3 separate regions of the Homo sapiens genome follow, and all the other regions are linked to region 1. Evidence: promoter capture Hi-C in 16 types of primary human blood cells and fetal thymus (Javierre and others, 2016). All regions are on one chromosome and are shown on one strand. The core of a region is centred on a gene start or on the middle of the fragment in contact, and the rest is flanking DNA. Distances in the headings are between cores, read along the strand shown.

What was found. Contacts are between HindIII fragments. The CHiCAGO score rates a contact against its expected background, and 5 or more counts as called.
Region 2: a contact is called between a fragment that was not itself captured here and the fragment with the promoter of CMA1 in region 1, in 2 of 17 cell types (erythroblasts and total CD8 T cells). The highest score is 7.1, in erythroblasts.
Region 3: a fragment that was not itself captured here is called in contact with the fragment with the promoter of CMA1 in region 1 in 3 of 17 cell types (total CD8 T cells, naive B cells and total B cells); the score reaches 5.9 in total CD8 T cells.

Annotation. Positions count from the first base shown.
Region 1 is chr14:24,506,562-24,510,618 of GRCh38, forward strand. CMA1 (chymase 1) reads right to left here and starts at 1,704. Exons shown (of 5, transcript NM_001836.5): 1 at 1,617-1,704; 2 at 795-945; 3 at 1-43. The coding sequence starts at 1,674. RefSeq lists an enhancer at 313-1,512. The HindIII fragment of the contact is 2,718 bases long and covers 1-2,698 here.
Region 2 is chr14:25,148,411-25,152,467 of GRCh38, forward strand. The region is part of intron 2 of LINC02286 (long intergenic non-protein coding RNA 2286); the gene reads right to left. Among named protein-coding and RNA genes, the nearest start is that of LINC02286, 5.8 kb to the right of the region's middle. The HindIII fragment of the contact is 2,305 bases long and covers 714-3,018 here.
Region 3 is chr14:25,130,254-25,134,310 of GRCh38, forward strand. The region is part of intron 3 of LINC02286 (long intergenic non-protein coding RNA 2286); the gene reads right to left. Among named protein-coding and RNA genes, the nearest start is that of LINC02286, 24 kb to the right of the region's middle. RefSeq lists silencers at 2,610-2,904, 2,806-2,855. The HindIII fragment of the contact is 315 bases long and covers 1,484-1,798 here.

The sequences.
Region 1 (4,057 bases), core at 454-2,953:
TTCCTCTGTTATGTTATGGGCTCCAAGGGTGACTGTTATAGACCTGTTGTGAGGAAGAAGGAAGGAAAAGGAGCGACAGTGATGGCTTGGGGTTTCTTCTGAGGTGAGCTCATTCTGAGAAAAGAGGACTAAACTCTGTCACTGGGTCGCCGGACTCTACCCATCTCCCTTTTCATGGGCCACTTGTGGCATTTGAGGGCTCAGGCTTAACTCATGAAAGAGCTTTCTCAGGAAACAGACACAATTTCTACGACCCCTGGAATTGCTGGGGACTGAACAGGCCAGGGAGGACTCAGGGGACAGGGTTCACACTTCCTAATTCAGGGAACCCTGCATGAGGGCCAGCCCCTGAAGCAGGAGATATCAGTTAAACGGGAAAGTGGGGGTCTCATGTAGACCCTGTTCTCTGCCTCCCATAAAATGATGGGTTCAGGACCCTGAGAACTAGAGGCCAGTGTTCTTGAAAAGGCCATAGAGGAAGTGGCCCTGAGACTGGGTGGGGCCCTGAAAAGTGAGCCGTGTGTCTTGAGTTGGGTAGGGGTGAGGGGTGCTACTGCAACAAGAGGGACCTTGGACAGGACCTCCTTTTCCTCCGAAGGGGAGCTTAGCTCACAGTGACTGAGGCTCAAGGAACTATTCAAACACAGACTAAAGTCTTTCAGCCCAAGTCTTCCCTCTCCTGAAAGTTGACAAGACCCAGGACCCCCTCTTCAGTCCCCAGTGCAGGTGTATTCCTGGATGCTACTCTGGTTGTTCATCTCCCATTTGGAGATAAATAGACCCTGTTGTCTCACCTTCCTGCACAATGAGCAGCCGTCAGCACAAAGTTCCGTCTTATAAGGAAACCACCACAAAATTTTGAGGGACCGTTGGAAGTTACAATTTCCAGGTAGGCCATGTAGGGGCGGGAATGTGGCTTGCATTCTGTGCCCCCGATGATCTCCCCTGGAACAGAGCACCCCAGGGTTTGAACACGGCCATAGATACTCTCTCCAATGAATGGACAAATTGGGTTAAAGCTGAGCTAGGCTTCCCTGGAATCTCATTCTCACCCTGTGTTCCGCCCATCTTCCCTCTCCTGTCTCCTGTATTTCGTATCTTTCCCCACCCATAACCTCCCAGGTGAAATCTCATTCTTGCCTCTGCTCCATTCTGATGTTTTCATCTCAGACTTCTCCCACTCCCACCTTGCCCTGGCCCACCCTCCTCTGTCTCTGTGTAGGACCCACTGTCCAGGTTCCTGTTTTAGATTTCTCCATAGCTCTTGAGCATGGTCACAGAGTGAGAAAGTCACAAAGTAATGGGTAGCCCTGATGCTCAGAAGATTAAGAGGACATGTCTGTTTTCCTGGGGATACCCCTTTTCCTTCCACTTGCTCTGGGCTTTTCTACAATTGAGGTGAAATTCCTTGTTCCTGGGGGCTGTCCTAGGCTGTAGAGAATGGCAGTGGGTGGGGGTGGGGGTGGGGTGGCACACATCCCAAGTGGAAATTTCCCTCTGGGACTCTTGAAGAGAGATCTTGGAACCCTGTTTAGGAGTCAGCTATTTTCAGACTAAACATCTTTGTTTCAGGAGCTGATACTGCAGATTTCAGAGGGAAGAACCCTGATACTCACCAGCTTCAGCTCTGGAGCACAAGAGAAAGAGCAGCAGGGGGAGAGGAAGAAGCAGCATCTTCCCAGAGAGGCTGCCTGAGCAAATGCTGGTTTTCCTTTCCAGTCTTGGGTTTTATAACTCCCAGAAGGCAAGAGAGGGGCAAGGCTGGTAACCACAGGAACTGCATGGTCACGTTTTCTTCTCTCACTCTGAATTGGCTGTTTCTGATCAGAAGTTCCCCTAGAATCACCCAGTGTTTTTCTAGAAAGGAACTTGAGCCCTGAACTCCCAAGTGCTGGCTTCTCAGATGTACCCTCAACTATGGTGACTTTTCTGGAGTTGGGGGCAGGAAATGGAGGGACCATGTTTTTCTTTCCCAATTAGGGCAGCTTGTGAAAGGCCCACTGAACGTTCAGTGCAAAGACTTTTATGGCTATGTTCCATAGTCAGAAATGCATATTGCAGAGTCCCAGTGCATGCACATATGTATGTGTGAGTATGTAAGCACAAATTAAAGGTTTCAGGAAACAATCTTTATCTTAACCATGTGCAGTGTTTTCTGTTAGTTTCCATTCCACTCCACTCCACTCCATTCCACTACACGTCAAAACTTGAGCAACAACCCCATTTAAATGATAATTCCTTGTAATTTGAAAAACATTGACCTGGATCTCTCTCCTCCTCTGAACCACATGTTTTTGACAGAAGAGAGATCCAAGGAGGGTAGATGTGGGAAAAGAACAGACCCTAGGACAGAACTTTATGCAAAGAGCAATTGGGATTGGAATTAGCATTTTCTGAGAGTCTAGGTGTATCATATATTGTCACAACTCTTAGATATATTATTACTTTCACGGCAACCCTATCAATATGTATTACCATTATGATCATTATCATGTCATGATAGTCAATTTTTTAAATCAGCTATCATAGCTTATGGTTCAGAAATAGATTTTCCTGATATCAAATCAAGGTCCCTTTCTGCTCTAGCACTAGAGAGAAATAGAGGAATAGAGTCCTGCCAATGTGCAGGGGAAGTAAAGATGTAGAAGGGTGTTTGCTCCAGAGAGGTTGGGGTTTCCTACTGTTGCATTAAGAATCAAGCTTTCCACAACAACCTGGGGACACACCATTACTGTCACTTTACAATTGTAGAATTGATACTCAGACCCATTAACATGACAAAGATCACACACCTTATAATATCAGAAGTGGGTTTCAAGCACATAGCTTTTATTTTCCCTGGACTTACAGAAAGCAGTCCACATGGTGGACTGTCATTTCTCTTGGAGATTTATAAGGCATTTAGTTCAAAGACGGGGATGAGTAGTGTATAAGTGCCTTTCCCAAATCATCTCACTATGCCCTTGGTCTCAGGTTGGGCTTGTGACCAGAGTGATCCACTCCTTAGTATATATTGGCCAGGTCCTCTGTTGCTTTTAACTTAATTTCCCAAGTTCTACCTACAGCTCTAACTCTCTCTAGAATAAGACATTTAAACACATCCGTAATGTCTTTTCAAATCTGGTCTTCTTAAGTGTCCTTGTACCACTTTCTTCACTCTCTCGGGGGTTGCCAGAGAATATTCAGAATGCCCAGTTAAATTTGTATTTCAGATGAACAACAAATCATTTTTTAGTTAAGTATGTCCAAATATTGAATGGGACACACTAATACTAAAAAATTGTTGTTTATCTAAAATTTGAATTTAACTGGAATCCTGTATTTTTTATTTGCCAAAGTTGGCAACTCTTCTCTGGGCATTTCACCATTAACAGAACAGAAGAGAATCCGGAGCTGGAGAACTCTTGTCTTGTGGTCTTACATCAGTTAGACCAAAAAATCAGAGGCTTAAACAAATCAAAGCTGTTTGCTTTCACTGATATAATTAGAAATTGAGAGGCAGGTAGTCTGGGGCTAGTAAGACAGCTCCACAGCATCAAGATTCAGATCCACCAAGACTTAAGTTTTGCTCCACCTGCCTGGCTGAGGGTGAGGAAATGGAATAGGTATAGCCCCAGTCAGGGGACCAATTTCAGAAACGAGGACTGCGCTATCTGCTCACATTTCCTTCTTTGCTTTGTCATATGTATACCTGTGTATTTTAAGAGATTTCCTTTTTCTCTTTCTTCTTCCCCCTTTGGTTATTTTATATATAGCATGTTGGTAGTGAACTTTATGGTTTAGGGTACAGTTATCAAGTTGGGAGACTAGAGAATATCAAATTGAAAATGTGACCAAACTATTGTTGGAGCAGGTATCACCTAGAGACACAGTACTTGAAGTTAAAAGCAGTAACTGTTGAGACTGGGTTATTTCAGTTCTGCTGAGTCAAGTCTAATTTTCCTTTATATAAAAGATGGTAAAGATTATGTTCAGTGGGATAATTTTTGTTCTTGGAAACTTTAAGTGTGGCAAAAGAATGAATGTTGATGTGGGGCAACCAAGTGATGGATTGTAG
Region 2 (4,057 bases), core at 616-3,115, 640 kb after region 1:
TTCCTTGTTAAGTTTTTAGAATAGTTTATGTATTATAGATACTAGTCCTTTGCCAGATACATTTTTGCAAATATTTTCTCTTAATCTGAAGCTTGTCTCTTCATCCTTTCAACAGAACCTTTTACAGAGCAAAAGTGTGAATTTTTTTTTTTTTTTTTTTTTTTTGAGATGGAGTCTCACTCTGTCGCCCAGGTTGGAGTGCAGTGGCGTGACCTCGGCTCACTGCAAGCTCTGCCTCCTGGGTTCACACCATTCTCCTGCCTCAGCCTCCAGAGTAGTTGGGACTATAGGCATCCACCACCATGCCCGGCTAATTTTTTGTAAAAAGTATGAAATTTTGATGAAATTCAATTTATCAATCTTTTCTTTTATGGCATGATTTTGGTGTCAAATCTAAAAATTCTTTAGTCTTAGATTCTGAAGAGTTTCTCTTATTACTTTTTTCTAAAAGTTTTATAGTTTTAAAATTTCACTTAAATCTTTAATCCTTTTTTTTTGGGTGGGGGGGACAGGGCCTTGCCCTGTCATCCAGGCTGGGGTGCAGCCTTGACTTCCTACACTCAAGCCATCCTCCCACCTCAGCCTCCTGAGTAGCTGGTACCACAGGCACATGCCATAATGCCTGGCTAATCTTTTGTACTTTTCTTTAGAGATGAGGTTTCACCATGTTGCTCAGGCTAATACTTTTTGAGTTAATTTTAATTTGATGTTGAAGCTTAGGGCCACGTTCATCTTTTTGGCTTACGGATGTCCAATTGTTTCAGCACCATTGTTGAAAAGTTATCGTTCCTCCATTGAATTGTTTTTGCACCTTTGTGAAAAAGTAACTGCACATATTTGTATGGGTCTATTTTGGGTTCTCCATTCTGCTCCATCAATGTATGTGTCTATTTTATCACCATGTAGCCTTGATTACTGTAGCTATATAATTTGAAATCAAGTAGAGTAATTCTTCTTGCTTTATTCTTTATCAAAATGGTTGTAGCTATTCTAGTTCCTTTGCCTTTCCATATACATTTTACCATAATCTTGTCTACATCTACAAATTCTCTTGCTGGAATTTTGATAGAAATTACATTTGACCTGTATATTGAGAAGGCTGTGAGTTAGGTTAGCAATTTGCAGAATCAATTTCCCTGTAACCATCTCCATTGTTTATTTGCATATATTAATATTCATTGACACACAAGCCAGTGTGTGCCTGTGTGTGCATGCATGTGTGTATGTAAAGAAAAAAGGGGGAGGGAGGAACTTCTTCCTTCTCCTGATTTGGTGTCATATGAGGTATAAGCAGCTCAGTGAGGGTTTGGGGCACAGGTGAAAAATCTACCAAATAAAATCTTTAGATACAACCATTAAGATGTGACCAATTTGGTTGAGGTATTTTGATGCAGGCCATTTAAAACACAGTATCACTGTTGTATTGCCAACTTATATTAGTAACGAATATCCCTGTGTCATTTCTAACCCCCATTCAAATCATGGAGGATTTTCATATTCAGTTGTGTTTATTTTTGTATTGGCCCACATTTTTGTCCTATGTATAAAGTTTAAAATTAATTTTTAAAAAATTTGAATAGGCAATGGATATATTCAAAATTTAAAAAATGTAATACATCATATAATACAATCACAAAAACATCAAAACAATATATGAAGAAGCAAACCTTATATTCTTATAGCCACACTATCCATATCCATTTAATTCTACCCCGCCCCCAACAGGTAACCACTTTTTAATTTGTTTATCATTCCAGGGAATAACCCGCATATATGTTTACATATACACTTAGAGTATTTACTTCAAAACACTATCATTAAAAATGTAAATAAATTTTGACTTTTTATTACTTTGTCTGACAGTAAATATGGTCTATGATCTCAGTTTGTTCCATTTTTAAAAAACACAATTTGTAATAATGTATCTTGAGAGTGAATACCCTCATTTGTAAAATTTTTGTTAAAACTTAAATCTTGGCAAGTTTTCCCCTCACTTTCTTACCTTTTATGTAACAATATTGTTAGATAAATCTGTTTAATTTTAAGGCCTGAAGATTCTTTATAAATCATGTAATCTTACTCAAGACATTTTGAGATCAGGAGAAGAGAAGGAGTGTGTTCAGGACCACAGGGTCAATTTGTGGCAGAGCTGGGAGTGGAACAGAGGCCCAGTCCAGAGCTGCCCTCTGCCCACACTCCTGAATACACCCATTGCTGTGAGATGACTCAGATTTATTGTTACCATGGCTGAAATCCATTGGAAAAATGTTTCTGCCATTCATCTCAATCCTCTGCTAGTCATGTGGTTTATCCTTTATAAATGAGGATTTCTTCTTTTTTGTTGACAGTTTCATGATTTTAGTTGTTTCTGCTCTCTTAACATTTGCCCAGTTCAATGATTAATCCTCTGATCTGAGCCCACTTAGACTGGAGTAATATCTTGCCAATGAGAATGAGCAAGTGAATAATTGAAATTTTTATTAAGGATGAAATTTCTTTACTATGTTATATTTATTATATATATGATAGTTTCAACTTTCTGAGTCTCTCTTGTCAAATGCATTCTTTCTCATTATCTCCTTTATAAAATGTTTAATTTAAATGGTCAGTCTTCTGTTCTTATGCAGGAGAATGTCAGCCTGATCCTCAACCAATTAATACCACGTTTCAAGTTGGGTTTGACTTCTACTAACGTAGTAGTCTGACCCCTAGTGGTTATAAGAAACATCTGCACGGCTTGTAAGCAAATTTTGACTGAATTTTCTGAAAAGTGAATATCGGACAATGAATTTCTCCTTGAAAATAAATAAAATAAAAATAAGAGAAGAATTTTGAGTCCATAGAAAAAATAATAGGGAAGTTCAGGTAAAATCATGTTTCTATAAAAATAATTTCAAATCGGTATTTTTACTGATTTTTTAGTATTATGTGATCAGGCTGCACTTATGTAACACATTTATGGTGAACATAACACACTTATGTTCCAGGAATTCATTCTATGTTATTTATTGGAAACAAAGCTTGTTTGCCCCCAAAATTAATGTTTTGTCATTGTCCCAGCATGCCCTTTCTAGTCTGCGTAGAATTGGGATCAAACTTAGAGCTGGATGACATTTTTGTGGTCTGAAGATCAGAGAGCCAGAAAGGACTGGCCACAAAGTGAAGTCACAAAGTGAAATTATCAGTAAATCTAAGCAAACTCTGTCTTTCATGAGGCCCTGAGGTCTAGGAGGGCCTGAGTCACATCAGGAGAGTACAGCCTGCCCTTGATTCTTGGGAGCTGGGAGGCAAAGTCGTGCTGCAGGGGAGAAGGAGGAGGGTCTCAAGAGTGCAGATCCAGAAAGGAACAAACTGTAACAACTATAAATGCAGTATGTGCTTACTGTAAAAATGTCCAAACAGAAGGATATGAAGTAAAAGGTAAAAATTCCTCCTTTTTTTCCAGCCTGAGTTCCGCCAAAACCATAGCCTAGAACTATGTACTTAGACATGCAACCACCAGACATTTTTTTGTGTGCATGCATGTGCGCACGCGCACACACACACACACACACACACACACGCACTGTCTTATTTCACATGGGTTCATGTTATACATATTGTTCTATAAATTGATTTCTTCACTTAATAAAATATCTTGGACATCTTTTCAAGTCAGTATATTCTTATTGTCTGCCTATCTACTGTTCTGATACAAGAATGTGGGCTAATTTATTAACTATCCTTAAGTAATTTACATGTAGATGTTTTTAAAAATTTTCTGCTATATAACCAGTGTTTTAATAAACATCCTAGGGCTTGTAACTACAGACTTATACAAGTATATGTGTGTGTATATATATATATATGGAGTAAATGCCATTAAAATGAAATTTTAGGTCAAAGCTTATGCATAATTACAATCTTGACAGTTAATAAAAGCATATTTTTGAAATTGATATTGTCCCATCTCCCTTTCTTCACTTATTCCTTGTTCCTGGTGCCCCTTCCCAGGCCCTGATGGCTTTATATTTCTCTTTCCCTTAGTCAACCCTGCCCTTTGTCCTTTATGCACATC
Region 3 (4,057 bases), core at 391-2,890, 620 kb after region 1:
TAATAAGATTACTATATATAGAAATATACAGTAATATTTTTATATATATTTTAATATCTAGTAATATATATTACTATATATGTTATATGTAAAACAATATATACTATATATAGACATAGTAACATATATTACTATATATACTATATATAGACATGTCTATATATAGTATATATTGTTTTATATATACTATATTATGTATGCTATATAATATAATAAAATATATAATATGCTATAATATATAACATTATATAATATATATCTCAAAGGATGGTTAAGCTTTCAAAAGGCAGGGATAAAATAAGGGGCAATTTAGGAAAATAGGAATATATAGTATATTATGTATAAACAATATATACGATATATTATCGTATATATTATGTACGATATATTATCGTATATATTAAATACTATATATTATTGTATATAATATATACTATATATAAATGTATATGATGATATCTATATTACTATATATTTCTATGTATATAGTACTATATGTATAGTAATCATCATTCCCCATGTTATGAGTGGCAGGCTTCAAATTAGCAGCGGTACAATAAATGATCATAAAAGGCTCTTGCATTTTTTATTTTCTTCCATTCTTAAAAAGGCTCCAAAGAACAAAACATTTGGCATGTGTAAACACACAGTGACTTGCCTTATGAGGTCTAATGTCTGTGGAGTTCTCTGATTACCATCAAGAAAAGCAGAAGGAAAAACATTGGTTCAGGATCATTTCTACTTATCCTTTTCTTTCCAGGTAAAAGAAATCTTTACCTGGGTCTAGACCAGCAAAAGCTCTTTGAAGCAGGAGATACACATCACTGGGTACGGCTGGTTCTCAAACATGCACTTGATTTTATTCACAAGTCTTACAAATCATCACATGCCCAAAGAAACACCTAGGTGAACTAAAGTTCTGATTTTATACACTCACTGCCACCTGTCACTCACAGCCTGCAAGTCTCTGTGCCAATGTCAGAAGCTGGAAATATATTATGATGGTTAAGATCAGTGCTCCTTATCAGTCATTTTCTAGTGGATTGTAAGTTGCTCATGTGGCAAAGTTAACCTCTTAGGAAGAAGGGGTAGATGGAGAACAATAGAAGAGGTGGAACTAAGTTCTGGGGTACTCCAGCATCAAGAGATTGAGGAGAGGGAACTGGGATCAGTTGGATGTCAGGAAAGCAAAGCAAGAGTGTCATCATGGGAACCAAGAGAAGAGAGAGTGATCAGCTCTATGAAATGACACCCCCATTTTTACATCCCCCAATTCCCCATTTATCTTTCTCAGCTGCAAACATGGATGATTTTCTTCTATGCCGTGAGGTCACTGAACGTATAAGTAGAAATTCCTAGCTCTCAGAACCATTTGGGACTTTTGCAACCTATACAAAACTTCAGTATCCTCCTTTTTTTCCTATTTTATATTTTCTCTTTTGAATTTAATCCTCATGCGATTAGAGTACGCTAAAAGGGACCAAGCTTAGATTAGCAGAAGAATTTTACTAAAGGTTCAAGTATGCGTTTGGCAATGAAATTCCATCCAGTATGTATTTACTAAATGCTTACTAAGTATAAGATGCTATTCTCAATGCTGTAGAAAAAAAATTAAAATTCTATGTTCACTGAAGTCAACATCTCAAATGTTGGCAATGTAGGAATGAAATTATCTTAAAAGAGATAATGCATAATTTGCTGTGGAAGTACAAAGGAGGAAGAGATCACATTCAGCGGGAGGGATTATAAAAAACCTGGAGGAGGATTTAGTGTGTGGGTGGACCTCAAAGGGTTGTTAAGCTTTCAAAAGGCAGGGATAAAATAAGGGGCAATTTAGGAAAATAGGAACAACATGAGCAAAGGCACAGAGATGGGAAACTATAGCTTGTTTTTGGAGAAATGGTCATAGTTAAATTTAGCTGAAGCATAAAGATATGTATGTAAAAAAGAAGTGAGTAAGACTGAAGAAGTGATGGCATATGTCAGAGAGTCCTGGGTAGAGAGGCAGTGAGGCAGGGAGGTGGGGAGGCCACATGGTGAACTGCAAAGAGCATGTGCTTCCCAGCCAGAGATGGGTTAGAAATCAAGGATCTCCCCAAAATATTAGTTCTGCAATAGGATTGTCAAATCATGTCTCCAATCTATAATTTTTCTAATACAAAAGACACGTGTATGCTTACCTTAAAAAAAATCCCACGGCCAAACCAAACCAAACTATGATGTTCATAATGATGGCTGTGAGACTTTTTTGTTAAAGCTTTTTGTTAACAAAAAGTTAAATTGTGTTCAGTGTATCTTGTCTAAGAAGTCAGGAAAGTGAATAGGAGGCTGGGGCTGGGTAAGGGCACCTAGGAGTCACTGAGGATAGCTTTCCTGAGAGAGGTTGGTGTAGGTTGTACAGGAAAGAGGGCTGTAATAAGAACTTTTGTGTTTTGAAGGTTTAAAATCCAACTATACACCCCATTCTGAGGGAGGGAAGAGAGAAAAGGATTCTGGATCTGAGAAGTGGTGAATGTTGGAAGAGTCCTGAACGGCATCCCTCGGGGGTGGGCAGCATTTGGGGAAGCTGGCGTATGCGGCACGAGAGTGCAAGGAAGGAAGAGCTGCAACCACGTGGCTGAGCTCAGCCCTGGGAGATGGGGCCGTCCTTCCTCTGGGAGCCACGGAAATTTCTACCTGGGTCTAGGCGGGCAGAGGCTCTGCAGCAGCGGACACGCATGACTGGGTAGAGCCAGTCTTCAACAGTGCCACCGTGTGGCAGAGAGGAGCAGTGACAGTTATAACTCCGTAGAATTATATGCGGGTTCTCCCAGCCCAGCCTTGAAAACTAAGCAGCTCTCTCTTCCTGGAGTGTGAGGGCTTCAGCATCCAGGGACAAAGCCCAGTGTGTACATGGAGAAGGCTTAAAGAAGCCGATACCGTGCCTCTTGATAATAGGGAATATGAAAACTTGATAAATTAATTGAAAAGTGAAGAGAAGTGGCGAATTCAAATTTGTACGGCAGTTCTAAGTGATAATTAGAATAAAATCATTAGACAAAAAGGAAAAATATATCTAGTTCTAAAGCGTTAGCTTTTATCTTGCTAGAAAACTCAGCTGTCTAGAAACTCACATTCCTAAGCGTCTGGATTGAGATTTTCTTTTGGTTTTCATTCATCAGGGAATGAAGTGAAAGGATTGAATTTTCACGTTACACTTAACTCAGGCTTGATAAGAGTCTGGAGGAGACAGTCTCTAATAATCCTATAATCCTAGATGTCCTGTCTATACCTTTTAACATCTCTGCATTTACTCCTTGAGTTTCTTGTGGTTGAGGAAGGATTTTGAAAGGGAGATGATGAGAAAAACATCACTCATATTAGTTACTGACTGAATTACATCCATTTCTGGTCAGTCGTCATTAGGTAAAGCTCTAAATTTCAATCAGGATCTTGGCTAATTGTACTTTGGATTTGATAAGGAGTCATTGAAAAGTGAGCAATGAATAAGATTAAAGCTAGGCATTTCTTCTTTTTAAACTAATGTATCATTCATTATTGGTTTAGTGCTCATCAGGTTTTGGTAAATAAATAAAAATCTTAGATTTGGAAAGTTCTACAGTGGTCATTTAGTTCAACCTTTTATTCCCAGGCAGGAGACCTTTTCTGCAAAATACCTGACTTTTTGTGACAGAAGATCAATCAATTCAGGATCTGCTAAAACACACCTAGGGATGTAAAACTCACCACTTTGTGAAGCAGAACATTCACCTAATATTCAGAGTGTAGCCTGGGGGTAGCAACGGGGCATCCCTGGAGAGTTAGTAGGAAATGCTCGATCTGAGTCCCTATCCCAGACTTGCTGAATCTGAATCTTCCCTTGACAGGATTCCTGGGTACTGGGTACTCATATATACGTAATGTTTGAAAAGCACTGGCTAATTCTATCGTTAGATGGTTTCAAATGTTAAATGGTTTCAAACTGACATCTTACTAAAACCTAATGTTCTGGTGTGGTCTATGAACCCATCCCCACAGCCTCGGCTGTTAGCCCAGCTTCTGGCCATTCCTGCAGTTA